Regions from separate parts of the Homo sapiens genome. Here regions 1, 2, 3, 4 and 5 are each linked to region 6. The links are contacts of gene promoters, found by promoter capture Hi-C in human tissues and cell types (Jung and others, 2019). All regions are on one chromosome and are shown on one strand. Each heading gives the region's core, a stretch centred on a gene start or on the middle of the fragment in contact. The rest is flanking DNA. Distances are from core to core; before and after follow the strand shown. Region 1 has its middle 300 kb from the start of GRASLND. Region 2 has its middle 320 kb from the start of GRASLND. Region 3 has its middle 190 kb from the start of LINC01871. Region 4 has its middle 110 kb from the start of LINC01871. Region 5 holds the start of LOC105373406 (a long non-coding RNA gene). Region 6 holds the start of ID2 (inhibitor of DNA binding 2).

The links. Contacts are between HindIII fragments. The study calls those that stand out against the background at their distance.
Region 1: a fragment that was not itself captured here is called in contact with the fragment with the promoter of ID2 in region 6 in 1 of the 25 tissues and cell types used here (aorta).
Region 2: a contact is called between a fragment that was not itself captured here and the fragment with the promoter of ID2 in region 6, in 1 of the 25 tissues and cell types used here (dorsolateral prefrontal cortex).
Region 3: a contact is called between a fragment that was not itself captured here and the fragment with the promoter of ID2 in region 6, in 1 of the 25 tissues and cell types used here (mesendoderm cells).
Region 4: a contact is called between a fragment that was not itself captured here and the fragment with the promoter of ID2 in region 6, in 1 of the 25 tissues and cell types used here (lymphoblastoid cells).
Region 5: a fragment that was not itself captured here is called in contact with the fragment with the promoter of ID2 in region 6 in 1 of the 25 tissues and cell types used here (dorsolateral prefrontal cortex).

The regions. Positions count from the first base shown.
Region 1 is chr2:7,221,188-7,224,035 of GRCh38, forward strand. No RefSeq gene overlaps it. Among named protein-coding and RNA genes, the nearest start is that of GRASLND, 300 kb to the left of the region's middle. The HindIII fragment of the contact is 7,264 bases long and covers 1-2,848 here.
Region 2 is chr2:7,237,995-7,240,873 of GRCh38, forward strand. No RefSeq gene overlaps it. Among named protein-coding and RNA genes, the nearest start is that of GRASLND, 320 kb to the left of the region's middle. The HindIII fragment of the contact is 3,186 bases long and covers 1-2,879 here.
Region 3 is chr2:7,534,613-7,537,683 of GRCh38, forward strand. No RefSeq gene overlaps it. Among named protein-coding and RNA genes, the nearest start is that of LINC01871, 190 kb to the right of the region's middle. The HindIII fragment of the contact is 4,711 bases long and covers 1-3,071 here.
Region 4 is chr2:7,611,763-7,614,543 of GRCh38, forward strand. No RefSeq gene overlaps it. Among named protein-coding and RNA genes, the nearest start is that of LINC01871, 110 kb to the right of the region's middle. The HindIII fragment of the contact is 3,212 bases long and covers 1-2,781 here.
Region 5 is chr2:7,379,095-7,382,039 of GRCh38, forward strand. It overlaps LOC105373406 (a long non-coding RNA gene), which reads left to right and starts at 1,084. Exons shown (of 5, transcript XR_922747.2): 1 at 1,084-2,945. The HindIII fragment of the contact is 9,223 bases long and covers 1-2,945 here.
Region 6 is chr2:8,680,589-8,683,695 of GRCh38, forward strand. ID2 (inhibitor of DNA binding 2) reads left to right here and starts at 1,468. Exons shown (of 3, transcript NM_002166.5): 1 at 1,468-1,925; 2 at 2,255-2,318; 3 at 3,097-3,107. The coding sequence starts at 1,578. The coding sequence ends at 2,311. ID2-AS1 (ID2 antisense RNA 1) reads right to left here and starts at 1,275. Exons shown (of 4, transcript NR_110154.1): 1 at 1,239-1,275. RefSeq lists enhancers at 667-1,170, 1,658-1,707. The HindIII fragment of the contact is 9,558 bases long and covers 1-2,201 here.

The sequences.
Region 1 (2,848 bases), core at 30-2,529, 1.5 Mb before region 6:
CGACATATTTTTTCCATAAGGCACATCATAGTCTTCTTGCACGTAGGTACACAAGACAGATCTTCAGAACTATGCGTAGAGGTCATTTTAAACAGCAAAATCACCAGCAAAAGATGTAGCATACATAGACCTTAAAAGGGACACTTATTTAGAGTCTGAGAGCTGAAACAAGAAGGCAGAGTGTTGCCTTGTTCAGTCTCAGCTGGGAACTTGTGCTTTGGATGATTCAAATATTTTGCTTCTCTGCCCACATTGTAAATGACTACAAAAGTGCCAATAGCATTGATTTGGGGGTTAAAATAAATTTTAGGAGAGAACTCGCAAATACAGAATCCATGTATAATGAGGATTGACCGTACTTAAAAGTTATATGTTACAGCAGCATAGACAGAAATTAGACTGGAAATCACCACATGGGTCTTCGCCATGATTCTTTTCCTAAATTGTTGAGTGGCCTGGGATTAGTTACAATTCTCCTGTGCCTCTCCTTCCTTAATTGTTAAAAAAAAGGCATTGCTAGTGAGATTTTTATTCATGGAGAATTGTAATGCTTGTACTTTCACCAACAGACAAAAATGTAATTGAAGTGCAGCCTTAGAAAAAGGGGTTACATAATAATATATAAAGGGACTTCAAAAAGTTTATGAAAAATGGAATTAAAAGATAAAATTTTTAAAATATAAACTTTATTTCTTAACATAAGCTCCATTATGGTCAAGACAGTTTTATAAGTGATGATACCAGCAATTTAGTTCATCCCTAAAAAAACTGAGGGTCCTGGAAATTTAGATTTAGCAATGAAGTCTTTTTTACATTTTCAATGAAAGAAAAATGGCTTTCCTTTATAGATTTTTTTTATGATTAGAAAACAAAAAAGAGTCAAAACTGGCCAAATCAGGACTGTAAGGTGGATACCTAATAATTTTTATGGAAACTCTTAGAAAATTACCTTTGTTTTGTGAGAGAAATGACCATGAGCATTGTGATGGTTGAGAGGGACTCTCTGGTGAAGCTTTCCCAGGTGTTTTTCTGCTAAAGGTTTGGCTAACTTTCTGAAAACACTCTGATAATCAGCAGATATTATCATTGCTTGGTCCTCCAGAAAGTCAACAAGGAAAATGACTTGAGAATTTCAAAAAAGTTTTTCCATGACTCTTGTTCTTAACTTGTTTATTTTTGGTTTGATTGGGCCACCTACACCTCTTGGTAGCCATTGCTCTGATTGTGCATTGTCTTCAGCATGGTACTGGTAAAGCTGTGTTTTATCTCCCATAAGTATTCTTCAAAAATATGCTCAGGGCCAGTACAGTGGCTCACACCTGTAATCCCAGCGCTTTGGGAGGCCAAGGTGGGTGGATCATGAGGTCAGGAGATCAAGACCATCCTGGCCAACATGGTGAAACCCCATATCTACTAAAAATACAAAAATTAGCTGGGTATGGTGGCACGTGCCTGTAATCCAGCTACTTGGGAGGCTGAGGCAGGAGAATCATTTGAACCAGGGAATTGGAGTTTGCAGTGAGCTGAGATGGCACCACTGCACTCCAGACTGGCAATAGAATGAGACTCAGTCTCAAAAAAATAAAAAAATAGAAAAAAATAAACGAAAAAAAAAAAGCTCAGGATCTTAATCTCACCATTTAAAAAAATGCCTATTGAGAGCTCTGTACTTGTCTCTAGCTAATCTGTGTGCAATGATTTTGACACCCATTACATGAAATTTTGCTCAACTTTAATTTTTTAGTCAGAGTTGTCTAAGCTGAACTATTTGAGATGTCTATGGTGTTTGCTATTCCTTATGCTATTAATCACCAGTTCTCTTTAATTAGGGCACAAACAAAATTAATATTTATTCTCATAAATGATGGGGATGGTCTACTGCTATGGGCTTCATCTTCAACATCATCTTATCTCATCTTAAAATGAGTTATCTATATGTAAACTGCTGATTTCTTTTTGAAATTGTCCCCACAAAACTCATAAAGCATCAATAATTTCCCATTCTTTCACCCAAGTTTTACCACATATTTGATGTTTATTCTTGCTTTAATTTTAGAATTCCTGTTGCTCTGATAGGGGTTCTTTTCAAACTGGTGTTTTTGTCTTTCTTAGTACCTCAAACTAGATCCTGTTCAGATGCACTATAAGTTAGTCAAAGTTTATTTTGGTGCAAAAATTTTTTAAATTCATGCATAGCTTTTTCATGGCGTGCATTCTTCATGAACATTTTGAAATATCCTCATATTTGTGAAAAGTTTTTCCTCAGGAGATGGTACTTTTGATTATGGTCAGGTAATCGCTAAGTTTTAAAGGCAAACATCACTAAATGTTTTGATGTCCTTTTGCCCAGAAAAAGTATAGCTTGACTGGGTGGGTTTTCTAAATAGCATTCCTAAGATGATGGATTAGTAATATTCTCTCCACTAGAAACAAATGAAATTTGAGCAGACATGAGAATAACTACCACATCCTACATTATATGAACCCCAAATTTATTGCATCAGTGACATATACGTCAGCTGTCTTTGGCAACAAAATTGAGACTTTTAGGAGAGTTTTGTTATTGTTGTTTTAAAGTTTATGTCAAACATCTAGAACCATGTCTGCTTTTGTAGGAGTATGCATGGATGTTCTAACACCCAGGTTTTACAGAACTGAGGCAGCATGAGGAATCTTATATTCATCCCATGTCATTGCCCAACATTCTCTAGGACCTTGCTGTGCAGCAGCAGAGGCACCATCTGGGATCTTGTTACAAACACTTTTCTAGGCCCTGCCTCAGCACTACTGAATCAGGATATGCAGTTTATGAAGATTCCTAGTGATTTATATGGGCTTTAAAAGTTGA
Region 2 (2,879 bases), core at 61-2,560, 1.4 Mb before region 6:
TTTTAGGAGTTTTCTTCTTTGTTTCCTTTCTAAGTATCTAAGAAGAGTGTCCTAAAGGAAATCTGTATGAGAATTTGGAATTCTTTCTTTATTCTATTCTAGATTTTATCAATGAAGTCAACATAAAATGAGTGTGTTCATTAATCTTTGAAAAATAAGAATTCCTTCTGAAATTTAAAAATTCCTGATCAATGACAGTGAAGGACACAAAAAGAGATACGGTCTTAGTATATTCCAGCTGCTACAGCAAAAATACTGGGTGGCTTATAAACTACAGAAATTTATTTCTCACAATTCTGGAGGCTAGAATTCCAAGATCTAGGTGCCGGCAGATTTGGTGTCTGGTGAGGGACCGCTTCCTGATTCATGAGTGGCTGCTTCTGGCTGTATCCTCACACGGTGGAGGAGGTAATGGTCTGTCCTGGGCATCTTTTATGAAAACACTAATTCTATTCATGAGGTTGTCATCCCCATGATCTAATCACTCCCTAAAGATCTCATCTTCTAATACCGTCACCTTGAGGGTCAGGATGTCAACCTATGAGTTTTGTAGGAACACGAACATTCAGACCCACTGTGATTTTTCAGTACAAGGTGGATCCCGCTGCCCTCTCCTCAGGAGCCTCTGATCGTGCCCACTCCTGACAAAGATGGCATGTTTGGTCCTCTATTCAATGATGTTTCTTACTGGGGACATTAGGAAGCCCTTACTATCACATTAAGAAGCCCTCACTATCACATTTTACCATTTCATATTAAACTCCGAATCTTTTAAAGTAGGTTTTAAAAGTCATCTATAAGGCCTGAGACAAGCTTTATAATGAAGCTTCCAGGGAAGGGGGGTATGCAAGAAATTGGATTACATCTTTTGGTGTTAAATTGTTTTGTCTCTTTTAGAACACTTGGAATTGAGTTGAATTCTCCAAGGCAAGGAAAATATTAATGTACACCTATTGGTGAATCCTGAAAAAAGAAAAAATAAAACAAATGATTTTAATCCTCACTTTTCATGTCTCTATAAAACATGTATCAAAGGATATAATTTATTTCCAGCTTTCATAAATTCATAGTTTTGTGGGGAAAAATCCGTTTGCTTTATGAAACTGCACAGTCCAAATTGAACCAATAACTAATATCCAGGTGTATTAAAGGGAAGTTATAAATTGCTTTCACTTTCTATATTCTTCAATGAATAGGGAAAATATGGATTAAACCACCTAAATATTTAGTGATGATGTAATTGGAGAGTTTAACTCATGGAGTGGAAATCAGAAATGCAATGTTGACATTTTTAGTAGTAATTCGCATTATAGGAAAGGAAGACATTCTTTTTTTTTTTTTTTTCTTGATAGGGTCTCACTCTGTTACTGAGGCTGCAGTGCAGTAGTGCAATCACAGCTCACTGCAGCCTTGACCTCCCCAGCCTCAGGTGATCCTCAGCCTCCCAAGTAGCTGAGACTACGGGTGCATGCCACCACACCTGGCTAATTTTTTGCAGAGATGGGGTTCCACCCTGTTGCTCAGGCTTGTCTTGAACTCCTGAGCTCATGCAGTCTGCCTGTCTCGGCCTCCAAAAATGCTGGGATTACAGGCATGAGTTACCATGCCTGGCCTCAGGAAGATGTATTCTTTAAGTTATAAGTGATGTAGGATTATGAAATAATATAAAAGTAAATAGACAAAGCAAAATAGAATAATATGAAAATACAATAGCTGCCATTTTTATAATTATCCCCAATTTACAGATGAGGAAACTGAGGCTTGAAGAGAATACTTAATTTGACTGATACCATAAAACTAGTAAGTAGAAGAACAAGAATTAGAAGCCAATTCTGTCTCCAATACCTGCGTTCTCACCACTACACATATTGCTTTCTCCTAAAGAAGCAATGGTGTCCCCTACCTGAGACAGGCAGTGCTAATTTGTCAATACCTGTAAGAAAGAAAAGAAGGGTCCTCAAAGCATATCAGAATATTCACATGAATGTTAGAATCATGAGATCACTGGCCGGATTCAGGCCAACCTAAAGAGTAAAGTTTTTAAAGAAAAAGTAGATCTATCTAAGAAAAAAAAATGTATAAACTTGGATTTTGAAGCTAGTTTTAAAAATGAATATCCAACAATTAATTACAATTTAAATTTGATTTGGGTGTGCTTCTCTAGTTACTGTGCCTGTAACTGCATCCTGAGGGGTTCACGAGCGCGCGAGGGCCTGACTATGCACCTGGCTCTGGCAGCCGGGAAGCTTTGGATAATTAAAGTGGATGCAGTCCATTTTCTAAGCAGGGTACTTTATGGGATCAGAGTTAAATTTCTATGCCAAATGGTAAAACTCTGAGGTCCAGCTCACTGTGAACAAGACCCTGTTGTCTCTAATCCTCAGTCGGCTAGCATAACCCATCTCCAGCGATCAGCTCCCTTAGAAGGTAAGCTGCCTCATGTCAGTTAGTGTGGTACCCAGAAGAGAAGCATCTTTTCCTCCACTGGCTTCTGTAGGCCGAGGAGGAACTGCAATGGTTGAAAGGGTCTCTAGAGATGCCTTCAGAAGTTGGGCACAAGGCAAATGAGGGGTTAAGAGCAAAGTTAAAAAAAAAGAAGACAATTTTATATATATATATATATATATATATACACACACACATAAATAAAATTATATAATCACAGCATCTGAATACATATGCAAAGATAATTACGTAATATTTTAATATATATTTATATATAATTTTAACATTATTATATTAAAATAATTATATATAATCACAGCATTTTAGTCAATTGCTAGACAAAGTGTGTTAAATAGCAGTTTTGTAGTTTTATTGAAATTAAATCAGAATTAAGGTGATTTTAAAAAAAGAAAAGTGTTAAAAGAAAAACTTCA
Region 3 (3,071 bases), core at 236-2,735, 1.1 Mb before region 6:
GTGTAAAAGTGTTCTCTTTTCACTACATCCATACCAACATTTATTATCTTTTCATTTTTTTATTATGGCCATTGTTGCAGGAGTGAGGTGCTATTGAATTGTAGTTTTGATTTGCATTTCCCTGATAATTAGTGATGTTAAGCATTTTTCCATATGCTTGTTGTCCATTTGTATATCTTTTTTTGAGAATTGTCTATTTATGTCCTTAGCCCACTTTTTGATCAGATTGATTTATTTTCTTACTGATTTGTTTGAATTCTTTGTAGATTCTGGATATTCGTCCTTTGTCAGATATATAGACTGTGAAGATTTTCTCCCACTCTGTATGTTGTCTTTTAACTGCTGATTATTTATTTTGCTGTGCAGAAGCTTTTTTGTTAATTAAGTCCCATCTATTTATCTTTGTTTTTGTTGTATTTGCTTTTGGGTTCTGTGTCACAAAGTCTTTGCCTAAGCAATGTCTGGGCGGGGTGGGGGTGGGGTTTCTGATGTTATCTTCTAGAATTTTTATGGTTTCTGGTCTTAGATTTAAGTCTTTGATCTATCTTGAGTTGATTTTTGTATAAGGTGAGAGATGAGGATCAAGTTTCATTCTTCTGCATGTGGCTTGCCAATTATCCCAGCGCCATTTGTTCAATAGGGTGTCCTTTCATTCTTTATGTTTTTGTTGGCTTTGTCAAAGATCAGCTGGCTGTAACTATCTGGCTTTATTTTTGGATTATCTATTCTGTTTCTTGGTCTATGTGCCTCTTTTTATACCAGTACCATGTTGTTTGGGTGACTATGGCCTTAAAGTATAGTTTGAAGTCAGGTAATGTGATGCCTCCAGATTTGTTCTTTTTCCTTAGTCTTGCTTGTTTCGCAGGCTCTTTTTTCATTTTATACGAATGTTAAGATTGTTTTTTTCTAGTACTGTGAAGAATGATGGTGGTATTTTGATGGGAATTGTATTGAATTGGTAGATTGCTTTGGCAGTATGGTCATTTTCACAATATTGATTCTACCCTTCCATGAGCATGGAAGGTGTTTCCGTTTGTTTGTGTTGTCTATGATTTCTTTCAGCAGTGTTTTGTAGCTTTCCTTGTAGAGGTCTTTCACCTCCTTGGTTAGGTATATTCCTAAGTATTTTATTTTTTGTTGCAGCTATTGTAACACAGGTTGAGTTTTTGATTTGATTCTCAGCTTTGTCACTGCTGGTGTATAGCAGAGCTACTGATTTGTGTACATTGATTTTGTATCCTGAAACTTTGCTTAATTCATTTACCAGTTCTAGGAGCTTTTTGAGTGAGTCTTGAGGGTTTTCTAGGTATACAATCATGTCATCAGCAAAGAGCAGCAGTTTGATTTCCTCTTTACCAGTTTGGATGCCCTTGATTTTTTTCTCTTGTCTGATTGCTCTGGCTAGAACTTCCAGTACCATGTTGAATAGAAGCAGTGAAAGTGGACACACTTTTCTTGTTCCAGTTCTCAGGGGGAATGCTTTCAACTTTCTCCTGTTCAGTATAATGTTGGCTGTGGGTTTGTCATAGATGGCTTTTATTACCTTAAGGTATGTCCCTTCCATTCAGATTTTGCTGAAAGTTTTAATCATAAAAGGATGCTGGATTTTGTCAAAGGTGTTTTCTGCATCTATTGAGATGATCATGTGATTTATGTTTTTAATTCTGTTTATGTGGTGTATAACATTTATTGACTTGTGGTTGTTAAACCATTTCCACATCACTGGTATGAAACCCACTTGATCATGGTGGATTTTCTTTTTGATGATATGCTGTTGGACTCAGTTAGCTAGTATTTTTTGAGGATTTTTGCATCTATGTTTAACAGGGGTATTGGCCTACAGTTTATTTTTTTGTTATGTCCTTCCCTGGTTTTGGAATTAGGGTAATATTGGTTTCATAGAATGATTTAGGGAGAATTCCCTCCTTCTCTTTTCTGTAGAATAGTGTCAGTAGGATTGGGACCACTTCTTCTTTGAATGTCTGATAGAATTTAGCTATGACTCTGTCTTGTCCTGGACTTTTTTTGTTGACAATTTTTAAATTCCCATTTCAATCTTGCTGCTTGTTATTGGTCTGTTCAGAGTTTCTATATCTTTCTGGCTTAATGTAGGAGGGTTGTGTATTTCCAGGAATCTATCCATCTCCTCTAGATTTTCTAGTTTGTGCATGTAAAGGTGTTTACAGTAGCCTTGAATAACCTTTTGTATTTCTTTGGTATCAGTAGTAATATCTCTTATTTCATTTCTAGTTGAGCTTATTTGGATCTTTTCTTTTCTTGGTTAATCTTACTAACGGTCTATCAATTTATCTTTTCAAAGAACCAGCTTTTTGTTTCATTTATCTTTTGTATTTTTTTGTTTCAATTACATTTAGTTCTGCTCTGATCTTTGTTATTCTTTTCTTCTGCTATGTTTGGGTTGGATTGTTCTTGTTTCTCCAGGTCTGTGAGGTGTGACCTTAGATTATCTATTTGTGCTCTTTCAGACTTTTTGATGTGGGCATTTAATGCTACGAATTTTCTTCTTAGCACTACTTTTGCTATATCTCAGAGGTTTTGGTAAGTTGTGTCACTATTATTGTTCAGTTCAAAGAATTTTTTAATTTTCATCTTTATTTCATTGTTGACCCAGTGATCATTCAGGAGCAAGTTATTTAATTTCTATGTGTTTGCATGGTTTTGAGGGTTCTTTTTGGATTTAATTTCCAATTTTATTCCACTGTGGTCTGAAAGAGTGCTTGATGTAATTTTGATTTTCTTAAATTTACTAAGAGTCATTTTCTGCCATATCATATGGTCTATCTTGGAGAATTTTCCATGTGCCGATGAGTAGAATGTATATTTTGCAGTTGTTGGCTAGAATATCCTGTAAATATCTGTTAAGTCCATTTTTTCTGGATATAGTTCAATTCCATTTTTTTTGTTAACTTTCTGTCTTGATGACATGTCTAGTGCTGTTAGTGGAGTATTAAAATCCCCCACTATTATTGTGTTGCCATCTCTCTCATTTCTTAAGTCTAGTAGTAATTTTTTTATAAATTTGAGAGCTTCAGTGTTAGATGCGTATATAT
Region 4 (2,781 bases), core at 71-2,570, 1.1 Mb before region 6:
CTTTCCAATCTTCATCGCCAAGAAGAAAGTGTTTCTAACTGTTCCTATAGGCAGGCTTCTGCTCTGGAAATAGAAAGTGTCAGTCAGACACTAAATTCTCAGATTGATGTGGCAGCTGGAATTAGTGGCAGGAACTATGGGCTGAGAGTCAAATAACCTATGCAAGGACTCTTGTGTTTGCTCAAGCCTGGGCCCTCGGGGCCTGAGTGTCTTCAGCTCTCAAGTTAGGTGACCTCAAGACACCTTTGAGCACTAGGGTTCTTCTCAAGACTATAACATGTAGAAAAGTGGAAGAAACCCACTATTCTTACAGATTGTAGCATAAATCAGTTAAAAGTACCGGCTGGGTGTGGTGGCTCACGCCTGTAATCCCAGCACTTTGGTAGGCCGAGGCAGTTGGATCACGGGGGTCAGGAGTTTGAGACCAGCCTGACCAACATGGTGAAATCCTGTCTCTACTAAAAATACAAACAATTAACTGGGCGTGGTGGCACATGCTGGTAATTCCAGCTGCTCCAGAGGCTGAGGCAGGAGAATCGCTTGAACCTGGGAGGCAGAGGTTGCAGTGAGCCAAGATCGCACCATTGCATTCCAGCCTGGGTGACAGAGCGAGACTCCACCTAAAAAAAAAAAGAGGATGATTACTATCAAGGAGCTAACATGCAAAACACTCAGCCAGTAAAGACGTCACAATGATGTTCACAGTGAACAATCGAATAACAAAGCCACAGATTCCTTCTATTTTTTGGCTTTGCTCTTTTGACTGTGTGGCTTTTGTCCTCATAGTCACAAGATGGCTGCCATACCGCCAGGCATTGAAGGTGGAAGAAGAATTTAAAACCCTTCTTCTTGCAAGGCTTTGCATTCTACTTAGAGAAGAAGCCTTTCTCAGCAGATGTCCATTCATGTCTCAGAGGACACAGTTGTCCTATGTGGCTATTGCTAGCTCAAAACTGGAAATGAAAATCAAACATCAGATATGTGGCTTTCCTGTCTTTTTTTTTTTTTTTTTTTGAGATAGGGTCTTTCTCTGTCACTCGGGCTGGAGTGCAGTGGTGCAATCACAGCTCACAGCAGCTTTGGGCTCAAGCGATCCTCCTGCCTCAGCCTCCTGGGTAGCTGAGACTACAGGTATGTGCCACCAATTCTGGCTATTTTTAAAATATTTTTTTGTAGAGACAGGTCTCACCATATTGTCCAGGCTAGTCTCAAACTCCTGGGCTGAAGCGATCTTTCCTCCTTGGCCTCCCAAAGTGCTGGCATTACAGGCATGAGCTACTATGGCTGCTGCTTTCCTGACTTTATAAAAGAAGAAAGCAAGGGTAAAGAAGAACAGGAATGGGTGCTTGAGTGAGTCACCCTATGGTAATCTGCTACAAATATTTGTCTGAAGTTCTCATCTGAAATTCTTCAGTTAGGCAGCATGGTATTGTTCAAAGACCATGAGGTCTGTCATCAGACGGAACTGTTAGGACAATGCCTGTTATTTTAGTTATTATCTTTGAAACCTTGGGCAAGGTCTTAGAGTCTTTGGGCTTCAAGTTTCCTTATCTCTGAAAAAGTATAATAATACCAGTCTTCGTTTCTTGTGATAATTAAATGAGATAATAGGTAATAAGCTTAGGGCAATGCTTGCATTTAGCATGAATTCATAAAAATGAGTAACTCTGAGTTACGTTTTGTTCATAAGCAGGATGTGTCAATATCACACACACGTGTGCATGCATAACACAGAAAATCAGTAACATTTGAGCAAAACGTGAGGTCCAAATTATCAAATTCCTCCTCTGAGGACCACAAGCTATGTTCTGGATTTTTCATATTCTCTTGATCCTTGTGTGATGTGCACACCTCAAAGACCACCTAGAACGTCCCAGTGGCTGTGGCGACGAGGGCCTTGTGCATACAATGCAGGCATGTTGATTTCAACGGGAGTGAAGTCTTTCAAAGCAGACCCCAAGAGCTGGGTCAACAGCTCTTTCAAAGAACATCCTATGCCAGTAAGCCTTTAGCCTGTCCCACCATCGCTGGTCCCTGGACTGTTGTAATGGGCTCTTTGCTGACCTCCCCATCTCAGCTGCCCTGGTCTCTCCTTCTACAGGTGAGAGTGAGCCATTGACAATTAAATTAGGTCACAAAGTTCTTCTACTGAAGACCACCCTACAATGGCTTCCTCTCTCAGTTAAAACCCACGGCCTCACCAGTACCATAAGCCCCTCCTGCAGCCTGCCATGCACCCCAGCCTGAGTCCCACCACGCCTCCTGCTGCTGCTCTGCAGATTTTCTTCCTGATCCTCAAGCAAACCCAGCAAAGCCCTGCCTGAGATACTTGGTCTTGCTGTGCCCACCACCTGGATATGCACATGGGATCATGTGCCCATCGTTCAGGACTCTGCTCAAATATCCCCTCCTCAGAAATCTCCGTCATACCTTCTCACCACGTGACATCATACGTTTATCTGGTGGTCTGTGGGCTGCCCCATCTGCTAAAATGTAAGTCCTAGAAGGGCAGCAGCTGTGTCGTTTTTGTTCCCTTGTGTGAGCCCAGCATTGAGAATCATGTCGGACACGCAGAATACACCCAGGAAATCTTAAGTGAAGAAAAAGTAAATGAATAAGTAAAGAGATGAATCCATCACTCCCGGAGTAGTTCCTGATTTCCACATGCATTTCATTCCTGCTGATTTAGTTTCTTATGCGTGGTCCTGAAGAAGCCCAGGACTAACCCCTCTATCTGTGAAGCAGCAGAGTTAACAAGACGTTTCACATAAGCTGCCTCTG
Region 5 (2,945 bases), core at 184-2,683, 1.3 Mb before region 6:
GTGGATGAAGAAAAAGTAACAAAATAAAAATCACACTAATCTTAATGAATTAAGGCTTCAAGTTACATAGACACTGCAAGAAAGTATAAATCACCCTGTCTATGCAAGAGTAAAACCAGTATTAAGCTAAATCATGTCTTCCAAAAATATATGTGAAAGTCTTAACCCCAGAAACTCAAAATGCAACCTTATTTGGAAACTAAGTCATGTTACAGATGTAATTAGTTAAGTTAAAATGAAGTCATCCTGGAGTGAGGTGGGCTCCTAATACAATAGAACAAGTGTCTTTATAAAAAGAAGAAAATGTGAAGGCAGGTGTCCACAGAGTGAAGACTATGTGAAGACAGCTATGTGGGGATAGAAGCTGAGATATGAGTTGTGTATCACAAGCCAAGGGAAGGCTGGGGCTACCAGTAGCTGGAAGAGACAAGGAAGGAGATTCCCTTAGAGGCTTCAGAGGGATTATGACCCTGCCAGTGCCCTGACTTGACTTCTAGCCTCCAACGCTGTGAGAGGAGCCATTCCTCTTATTTTATGCTACCCAGGATGTAGTACTTTGTTAGGGCAGCCCTTAGGAAACTAATGCAATGAGAGTTCCAGCAGAGTACAATAGCCTCTATGTAAATAGTGGTAAAACGTATCCTCGTTAATAAAATTACATTGTTCAGCCAACACATACTTATTCAACCTATATTCTTGCAGAGTTGCTCTATTCTTTTCTCTCCTTCTATCAATGCTAGTTTTCTTATTAGATGCTGGTCATTGTAGGCATACAACAATGAATCAAACATCTGTGTTTCTTCTCAAGGATTGCAGTCTGGCAGTGGAGTGAGTATAAGCCTCTATATAAACTCTGCTACATGTGGGAGTATGGACATCTCTCTCAAGAGGAGCATGGGAAGGAAGCGCAGCAGGGGCACCATCTAGGGACACTGCACGGGCTTCAGGAAAGCCATGACATTGGAGTTGCCGGTGGTGGTGGTTATGGTGGTGGTGATGGTGGTGGTGGTGGTGGTGGTGGTGGTGGTGGTGGTGGTGGTGGTGGTTCTGTGGAGACTGGGGAAGGTAGGTGAAGAACAGCTGTGGAAGTCAATGTCCCAAGACTATACCTGGAGGAGTTGGGGATGGCTTTATACATGGGGTGAGGCTTGAGAAAACATGGTGCTCATAAGGCCAAAAGACTTTGGTAGTGGTAGTATTGGCTCACGTTTCCTTTCAGATAGATTGAAAACCATGTGCAAAGGCAAAGGAGGTGAGAGAAAGCACTCAACCCCCAAGGAAAATAGGCCGAGGCCAGATCAAAAAGGTCTTTAGATATGACACCAAATGTCTCAACCTTCTTTCAGCTGATGGTGTGGTGAGCGGTTCCAACACAATACATGCTTTGGCAACTATTGTCACATGCAGACCATCTTGAGTCACATAACGTCTTGACTTTCTTAGATTCAAAATATTTTTATATCTTTTTTCTACTATGTATCCAAAGCACTTAGTTGAATAGTTTTATTTTATGCCTACTTCATGAATACTTGACTTCTAAGAAATAACTTTTCTTTCTCTAGCCTATTGTATTTACCCTACAGCCTAGCATAGATACACACCTAAAAATAATTTTTCTGGACTCAGCCTGGGAGTGAGGCTTAAATGGCAATTTATTCCTGCCTCCAGCTTATTAAAGAAATTCCCCAGTCCCCTATCGTCCCCTTCATCAATTTTGATAAGAGTCATCCAGATCCAGTGACTCAGGGACAAAACAATCACCACCTCAAGTGTTTCATTCAATCCTACAGACTAGAGCTCCAGGAAGACTGAATAGAGACACCCAGGAGAGCTTTCCTGGTTGACAGCACTCCCTGCCTATCGCCACACATTGATGCCAGGAGGGTGAGGTGAACTCACTTCAAGGCGAGAGGGCCGTTGAAGCTTCTGTTTGAAACCCTCTCAGACTCTGCCCTAAGCATCTCTTCCTCTGGCTGATTTTAATCTGTATCCTTTCCCTGCAATAAACCAAAGCCATGGGTGTAACTGTTCTGTGAGCCCTTCTAGTAAATTTTCAAAACTGAGGGTAGTTTGTGGATCCCCCCGCCAACCTTGAGGTTCATGTCAGAAGTAAGAGAGGTCTTGGGGACTGTATCCTCTAACTGTCTTGGGCAAACTCTATTCCTCTAAACTCTTTTTTTTTTTTTAACTTTTTACACTGATATTCTAGATTGTTTTTCAATCAGTAAAGCAAACCTGATAAAGAAGTTCTAAGAATCAGGCCCTTCATACCATTTATAGTGGAGGTTGCCTGGCATTCTGTGTATCATTCTAGTTCTTAGCATGCACAGCTATCTCCTCTGGATTCCATGAGGCAGGATTCATCTCAGTTCCCTCTAGCACAGTGGCTAACAGAGCAGGTACTCAGAAGTGCCTGTGACTAGAGTCACATATAAGACAGGGTCTGTTCTCAGGAGCTCAGCATGCACATGTGGAGACTTCACAGGAAAATGTAAGGACTTTCACATTGGTGGCATCTAGTTTCAAAGAGAATGGCGAGTGTCTCAGTCAGCTAGGGCTGCCATAGTAAAATTCCACACTTCTGTTGGCGTAAGCAACAGAAATGTACTTGCTCACAGTTCTGGAGACTGGAAGTCCAAGATCATAGTGCCAGCAAGGTCATGCTCTGGTGAAGCATCTCTTCCTGTCTTGTAAACAGACATCATATTGTGTGTGTTCACATGGCCTTTGCTTGGTGCATCTGCAGAGAAAGAGAGGGAGAGAAAGACAAAGAGATGGAGAGAGAGCTGTTTCTTATAAGGGCACTAATCCTATCATGGGAGCCTTACCCTCATGACCTCATCTCAACCTAATGACCCTCCCAAAGCCCTGTCTCTAACTACCATCGCATTGCGGGCTAGGGCTTCCACATAGGAATTTTGGGGGGACAAAATTCTATTTATAGC
Region 6 (3,107 bases), core at 218-2,717:
TGAAATGCAAAGGAGGTAGAGATTGAGGCAGAAAGTAAATAAGATTTGAATATTGCCTTTCCTGGAGTTTTCTAGTTCATTGTTTTCTGGAGCAAATATTTTCAAAAACAAGAAACTGACACACTGTGGTCAAAACAGAATTCTAGATAAGCTACAATTATGTGAAAATTAAGGTATTTAAGTAAATAGCTGCAAACTTTTTAAAACTTAGACTGAAAGAACGAGTTCTTAAAAGATTTTCAGCCAAAAAAAAAAAAAAAAACCTTGAACCCGTATTCAGTACTAGTGCTGAAAAGATTCCAAACCTCATATGACAGAATATTTTTTTTTCCTTAGTGTGAAGATGTCTATCAATGGCTAGGGCCACCTATCTGTCACAAAGCTTTGGAACTCCTCTAGGTGTTGGAATGTGACACCAGAAATCACAATTAGTGCATAATTAATCACATTACTTTGCCACCTACACGGAAGGGCACAGACCGGCAGCCTTTCAAGGGCAGTGTATGTAAATGTAGTTTCAATATGCAAATTCTCCTAATTATTTCCGATTAATACGATCATTATAATAGCCCTGCCTCCTTCTTGAAAAGGAACCCTGAAAGCGCCCTGCCTGTGAGAGCTCCTTAGCGACCGGTGAGGTTGGGCATGGTTTGCAATAAGTACTCATTTTCTTGAGTTTACAGTAATGCCTCCCGCGCTGCTCCGGGTTGCAAAAGCCCACACTAAGCCTGTCGTCGAATGCGTGCGTGGGTGGTTTGTTTGTGTTAACATAACTTTTCCTTATCTGAAGAGACGAACTCACTCTACAAACGTGACTCTTCAGTGACAACCTAATTTGCGTTTTCACTTTCTTCTGAAATGCTTTCTATCTTTCCTCACGCTCTCCCTCCGATGGGTTGCAGTGAACTGTGGCTTCCCCCCTGCGGTGCTGAACTCGCCCGTGTAGCTGTGATTTTAGAGCTGCCGACAGCTCTAAGGTGTGTAGGGCTTGGTCTGGGAACACCCCCAGGGCAAGGGTCCCGCCGCGCGCTTGGAATTAGAATTAAGAATGCATATTTAGGCGCCCAGGGTCTGCCCCCTTCTCCCTCCTCCTTCCCCTCCCCCTTCCCCTCCCCCTTCCCCTCCCCCATCTTCCCTTCTCTTCCTCCTCCCTCCTCCTCTCCCTCCTCCCGCCTCCCTCCTCCCCGCCCCCCGCCCGCCGCTCCCCGCCCCCCGCCCCCCGCCAGCCCCGCACTTACTGTACTGTACTCTATTTACCACCCCAGCTGGGCTCGCGCCCCGCCCACCCCGCGGGGATTGGCTGCGAACGCGGAAGAACCAAGCCCACGCCCCGCGCCCGCGCCCACCAATGGAAGCGCCCGCTCGTCTTGATAGACGTGCCACCTTCCGCCAATGGGGACGAAGGGAAGCTCCAGCGTGTGGCCCCGGCGAGTGCGGATAAAAGCCGCCCCGCCGGGCTCGGGCTTCATTCTGAGCCGAGCCCGGTGCCAAGCGCAGCTAGCTCAGCAGGCGGCAGCGGCGGCCTGAGCTTCAGGGCAGCCAGCTCCCTCCCGGTCTCGCCTTCCCTCGCGGTCAGCATGAAAGCCTTCAGTCCCGTGAGGTCCGTTAGGAAAAACAGCCTGTCGGACCACAGCCTGGGCATCTCCCGGAGCAAAACCCCTGTGGACGACCCGATGAGCCTGCTATACAACATGAACGACTGCTACTCCAAGCTCAAGGAGCTGGTGCCCAGCATCCCCCAGAACAAGAAGGTGAGCAAGATGGAAATCCTGCAGCACGTCATCGACTACATCTTGGACCTGCAGATCGCCCTGGACTCGCATCCCACTATTGTCAGCCTGCATCACCAGAGACCCGGGCAGAACCAGGCGTCCAGGACGCCGCTGACCACCCTCAACACGGATATCAGCATCCTGTCCTTGCAGGTAAGACCTGCTCCGGGGTCCCCGCCCCGCCGCCGCACACTCCCGCGGTCGTCTGGGCTGTCACTAGGAGATCCGTAGCCCAGACGGTGACTTTCGTATGAGCTATTTAACTTTATTTTCTTCAGAATCTGCTGTAGATTGAGCTGTGCGTGAAATTGCTAGTAAGTTCTGACATGTTAATGCGTCTGTCTTTAAATCTGAATTGTTACCATAAACGTGTTTAATGGAACTTGCTGGTCTGTGGACTACAAAAAAAAAAAAAAAAAAAAAAAAACCCTTTCTACTTAACATTGTCTTAACCTCGTACTCTTTATCCTCTTTCTTTCCAGGCTTCTGAATTCCCTTCTGAGTTAATGTCAAATGACAGCAAAGCACTGTGTGGCTGAATAAGCGGTGAGTGTTTGCTTGTGCCACCCGTGGGTAAACTGCCCCTCGGTGTGTGTGCGCGCGCGCGCATGTGTTTTTGCTTGTGTATCTATAAAATGTCTGATTTGGTAAATGCATGCTTACTTCGCGGTGTTACCCGTACTACATTGTCTCACTAGACATGAAGGAGCTTGTAGCTTTGGGTGCTCGAGATCACAGAACATTTTCCTTTAAAAGGAAATGATGCCAATAACTTACTACGAAGGCGGCCGAGGAACGTGTGTATTGGCTTTGTAGCAAATGTAATGCCCTGGATCTTCCTACGAGTCCTCTGGTACTATGAGGTACTAACCTCCACTGTAATTAATCTTACCGCCACAAATTCCATAGTGATCCTCCTTCCCTAAAACTATAGTCCTCTGGGATTCTCTGGGCTAGTTGAGGATTGCTACCCTGTGCCTTCAACCCTGTGATGTGGGATCCCAGACTTCCCTATCTGTTAACTAAAGGGCTGTTTTCAATCAAATAATTGTTACGAGAAGCAGACTGGCGCCTGTAGCACTGCTGTTGGAGATCCAAATAGGAGATTGGGTTGGGAAGTTTTTCCCTTGAGTCTCTGCTATTTTAATGTTTAATTTGCGCTGTCGAGGCGAGTGTGTGTGTTGCATCTGGACGCCAGGGTTTGCCCAATCTTTGAGTGTTTGGTTAAATGTTCAAACTGTGGCTTCCTCCCGGCGCCAGTCGCCCGCCTCTGCCCTTAGGTTACATTCTCTTAAACATGCCTTTCTCCCCCACTCTTTCGCAGGTGTTCATGAT